Linked DNA regions of Homo sapiens: region 2 is linked to region 1. Evidence: promoter capture Hi-C in human tissues and cell types (Jung and others, 2019). All regions are on one chromosome and are shown on one strand. The core of a region is centred on a gene start or on the middle of the fragment in contact, and the rest is flanking DNA. Distances in the headings are between cores, read along the strand shown.

Region 1 (2,536 bases), core at 28-2,527:
GCAGTGGGGCGGCGGCTGGCATCGGATCTCCGCTCACAGCACGGAGGCAGCCTCTCTAGGTGCCCGCTCCGAGAAAGCCAGGCAGAGTCCCCGCCGGCTGGCGCCGTCACTGCCTTGGAACACGCGGGCTCTGCTCGAGTCCTGGGCTGACCTACGGTGGAGATGAGGGGCAGTGCTCCCGGGTGCCAGCTCCTGGGGGCAGCCAGCACCGCTCGTAGCGGACCAGTTCCAGGGCCAGGAAGGCGAAGCGAGAGCCGCAAAAGGCTCCCGGCTCCTCGAGGGGCGCGTCTTCCCATAGCTGGACCGAATTTGGGAGGATGTGTAAGTCCCCTGGGGTCTCCCGCGGGCACAGGGACTTGATGAGGGGAGGGGAGAACTACGTGCCTTTAGTTCCCCTCAGCGCCTCTGCCCAGCCCGCAGTAGGGGTGCGCCCCACCCCATCCCCACTGTCCAAATGGGGACCCAGGGCTCAGAAGGGGAGGGGATTGGATCCCAACGCGCTCCACTCTCGAAAATCTCTCCACCCCAGACCTGGACCCTCTCCGTAGCGCCGAGAGCAAAGCCCCCAAATGTTCGCGGTCCCAGGACCGGGGATGGGGGATGGGATGCCTGTCCTCCCAAGGCCAACGCGAATGGAATTCGAGTTCCCAGGAATCAAAGTTGCCGCGCGTCGGGGAGCTCGGAGCGGGGCGCGAGGCTAGGGCCAGGGGCCTGGGACCGAAGGATGCCGCGAGCGCCCGCCACGGGCGATGGCCGCGCTGGGAACAAGTGGTTCGGCAGCCGCGGTCACCACCAACTTCCCCGCCGCGCGGCGGGCGAACGGCGAGGGGAAGGAGAGGGAAGCGAGGAGGGAAGAGGCGGTGCGTGGCTCCGGGTACCGTGTGCGTGTGTGCAGCGGCGCCGCGCCTCGCCTCGCCTCGGGCTCTGCTCTCCGCCGGATCGGCCCCCGCGGGCCGCCTGCTCTGGCCCTGGCCACCGCCGCGTCTTCCCGCCGGCGCGAAGGCTCATCCGCGGCGTGCCGGCAGCTCCTGGGTCTCCGCGGGCCGCTCGCCGCTCGCCGCTCGCCGCTCGCAACTTCAGGCGCGCCGGGGGCTCGGACTGGGCGCGCCCCAAACGTCCAGAGGCTCTGCCACCCCGCGCTCCATGCCCAGGCCGGGCTGACTAGCCCCGACCACCTCAGCGTCCGGCCGCCGTCGGACGCGTCCTCTAGCCAAGCATCGCGCCTGCAGCCCGCGTCCCTCTCTCCCGAGCCGCCGCCGCCGCTCAAGTCCGCGATCAACTTTCCCTTGCTTCCCCCGCCCCGCTCGGCCCCCGCCCCGCTCGGCCCCCGCCGTCCAGACCCCGCCTCCCGCAGCTCCCTCCCTCACCTCCCGCCTCGCCCGGCCCCCGCCCGCCCGCCCGCGCTCGGCGCTCCCCCACCCCTCAGGCCGCCAGGACCCCCGAGCTCCCGCCCGGCCCCGCCCGGACCCCCGGGAGCGGCGCCGAGCCCCGCCGGGCGCTCAGGGCATGAATATTTCAGTGCTGGCGAAGCTGCCCTCTGCCGATGTCATGGCACCGGCTGCTGTGGCAACTCTACGAATCCCCCAAAGGGGCAGGGAGGAAGCCCGCGGAAGAGGCCCCAGGTGCGAGACAGAGCAGTGCCCCGCCAGGCCGCCAGCCGTCCCGCAGAGGGGCGCGCAGGGGGATGGGGCCCCCAGCGTCTCGTCCGCCCCGCGCCTCAGGCAGAGCGAGGTAACGCTCCCGGGAAGCCCGGGCGGGCGAGCGGGCGCTCGGCCTAGGTGAGCCCGCGCCATCTGTTGGCTTTAAGCGCCCCCTCTCTGCTCCCAGAGTCGCTGAGCAGTCCCTCTAGTCCTTGGGGCCTCTTGGCCTACGCTTCTCTCCAACCAGCTGCCTTTGCCCACCCGACTCGTGCGCTCCCATCTGCGCCTCCTCCCTCACTAGAGCTCAAGAGGCCTCCAAGTGCTTAGAAATGGAGGACCCCGGGTTGGAGGAGACCCGTGAGGTCACTTAGGCGCCCTCACCCCTGCGGGAGCTCCGTCTGCAGTGCCCGAGTCATGGTCTCCCGGCTCCTTTTTGCACACCTATAGGGACAGAGACTTTATGGCTTTCTGAGACAGCTGGATCAAGAAAGGGTCCATATGCAGGTAATGGAAGAGGTTTATCCCCTACCTTTGATCTTTACTTCCCCGGGGCTAAGCATTCTGATTTTTTAAAACTATTTCTCACATGACAGGATTTCCGAGCTGTCACTGTTCCAGTCAGTACATTGACAGTACCTGCCTGGAGCCAGGCTCTGGGCTGAGACTTTCTGGGCCTCAACTCATTCTATCTTCAATAAAGTCTTTCTGGTGGGCCCTGCCATTATCCCAGTTTTACAGTGAGAAACAGGCTTTAGGAGGTTGGGGACTTGCCCCTGTGGTGGAGTCGGGTATTGAACCCAGAATCTATCTGGTTCCAAAGCTCCAGTTCCTTACCATTCGCTCATTCATTATTCATTCATTCATTCACAGTCACTGCTATGTGCTAGCTAACTGAA
Region 2 (2,536 bases), core at 15-2,514, 130 kb before region 1:
GCCAGGCCTGTGCCCTGCCCCTTCCTCCTTCATGCCCCTAACTTCAGGCAGCCCTTTTCCATCTTTTGGGGCCTCCGCCCACCTCAGAAATAGAGAAGCAGACAGATAACTCAGAAACGGGGGAAGTCCCTCTGCTCACCTTGGACCCAGGCAGTCCCTCTTCCTGCCTCCTGGGCCCACGTGGAGAGCCACAGGTGAGCGCTGGATGCTGCAGTGGGGGCAAGTGTAGGGGTGGGACAGGACAGGGACAGCCACTTTGCTAGGCTCATCTGAAGCTCATTTGACCCAATTCTACCGCCTAGAGGAAGATGTGCTTGATACATGCCACAGGAGGACCAGGGACTTGGGAACCAAGGCAGGGCCCGGCTTTCTTGTAGCACCAAAGCTGGGATGGGTGAACCCCCTGCTCCACCCCCTCAGCGATGCAGAGGGCCGAGCTTTTGCTGGTGGCTATCTGGGTCCTCAAGCACTGGGTCTTGCATCCTGTTGCTGTGGGTGAAGGCTTTCAGCCAGGATCTGCTGGAGGCCAGGGACTCATTCCTCTTGGGTTCCCAGCACCAAGCATGGGCTTGGCACCCAGCAGGCCCTCAGGCAATGTTTGGTGAGTGAGTAGATGAATGAATGAATGAGGGTGGGGTTGGCACATGGAAGCAACACTCTAGCATGCCTCTGCCACTCTGCTGTAGCAAGCCAAGCAGGGACGCCTCTTTCTCTGGTTTCTGGGCTGCTGCCAAGAAGCCAGGTTTCCCAGGAGGGTCACGGATGCTCAGGCCCCCGCTGAACCCTCCTCTGTGGTGTCCCAGCAGTGTGGTGGCCACTTGTTGGATGTAGCACCACCAGCACCCCGTACCTGCCATCTCTCCCTCTCTCCCCACCTATGGTATGGGTTCCTGCCTGCAGCTGGCAGCTCTGGGTTCCTGGACTCTACCACTCCACCCCTACTGGCTTCCATGGGGCCTCTTCCCAGCCAGCTACCCTCCCTAGTCCTGGATGCTCTGCCCACGGCTGGCCCTCGTGGATTGTTCCCAAAAACCACCAGCTTCCCACTGTTGTGCAGACAACCTGCTTCCATCCTCCTGCCTGAAGGCCACAGAGAAGCAAGGCAGGTAGAGCCTGGGGGTGCTTCAGGGGTGCACTTTAGAACACATGTCCCACTGCTCTGCCTCCAAAGCACCTTGAGTCAGTTTCCTATGGCTGCTGTAACAAGTTACTACATACGTAGTGGCTTAAAACAACACAGATTTATCACCTTGTGGTTCTAAAGGTCAGAAGTCCAACATGGGCCTCAGGGGGCTAAAATCCAGGTGTCGGCCGGGCACAGTGGCTCACGCCTGTAATCCCAGCACTTTGGGGGGCCGAGGTGGGCAGATCACTTGAAGTCAGTAGTTCAAGGCCAGCCTGGCCAAATGGTGAAACCCAGTCTCTACTAAAAATACAAAAATTAGCTGGGCATGGTGGTGCACGCCTGTAATCCCAGCTACTTGGGAAGCTGAGGCAGCAGAATCACTTGAACCCAAGAGGCAGAGGTTGCAGTGAGCTGAGACTATACTAGAGCCTGGGTGACAGAGTAAGACTCTGTCTCAGAAAATAAGTAAATAATAAAATGAAATAAAATACAGGTGTCGCAGGGCTGCGTTCCTTCTGGAGGCTCCAAGGGAAATCTGTTTCCTTCCCTTTTTCAGTTTCTAGAGGACACCCACATTCTTTGGCTCCTGTCCTCTTCCTCCATCCTCAAAGCCAGCAACATAACAACCTCAGATCCCAACACTCACCTCTGCATCCACTGTCATGTCTTCTCCTCTGACCCTCCTACCTGCTTCTTATAAGGACCCTGGTGATTACAGAGGCCTCACAGAGAGGTCCTTAACCGCAAAATCCCCTTTTCCATGTGGGGTCACACAGTCACAGGTTCCAGGAATTCTGATGTGGCCATCTTTGGTGGGCAAGGGGGCATTACTCTGCTTACCACACTCCAGCCCCATTAGATGACGCGATTTCCTCCAGTAGCCCTGAGCAAGGCATCCTCCTTTTGCCCCTAGCTGCCTTTGACTGACGAGGCCAGACTCAGCCCTTCTCCCACGGCCTGGCAGGGAGCTCGAACCGCACTTCTGAGCTACCTTCAGCACGGGTCTTGGAAGAGAGCACACCAAGGGCTGGTTCATGGAATTCCTCTCTTAAAGGATATGGGCTACAGAGGAGCGGGAGGAAGCTCCCTGAGGGCAGGGACGGCATCCTGCAACAAATCCGCTGAGTCCCCACCGTGCGCCAGGCCCTGAGGGTCCGTCCACGGTGGAAAGCCACATGTCCCTGCCCCTGCTTTCACAGAGCTCACAGTCACCCGTAAGAAGCTAACAGTGATCAAATAGTCCTGCATATATGTGAGTAATTACACCTCAAGGTCAAAGCTATAGAAGCTCTGCTGCTCTGAAAGCCCAAGAACAGAAAAATCTTTCTGCATTGGGAGGAGGGATGAATTAGGAATGGAAGATCCCAGGGGAAGCTGGGAGTTCATGAAAAACGGGGAGGGTGATGTGTT

Evidence for each region. Contacts are between HindIII fragments. The study calls those that stand out against the background at their distance.
Region 2: a contact is called between a fragment that was not itself captured here and the fragment with the promoter of CDH23 in region 1, in 8 of the 25 tissues and cell types used here (H1 embryonic stem cells, adrenal gland, bladder and 5 more).

The regions. Positions count from the first base shown.
Region 1 is chr10:71,395,661-71,398,196 of GRCh38, reverse strand. CDH23 (cadherin related 23) reads right to left here and starts at 1,277. Exons shown (of 70, transcript NM_022124.6): 1 at 879-1,277. RefSeq lists an enhancer at 474-985 and a silencer at 1,669-1,758. The HindIII fragment of the contact is 12,378 bases long and covers 1-2,536 here.
Region 2 is chr10:71,523,980-71,526,515 of GRCh38, reverse strand. All of the region lies in intron 6 of CDH23 (cadherin related 23), which reads right to left. Among named protein-coding and RNA genes, the nearest start is that of CDH23-AS1, 13 kb to the right of the region's middle. The HindIII fragment of the contact is 8,250 bases long and covers 1-2,536 here.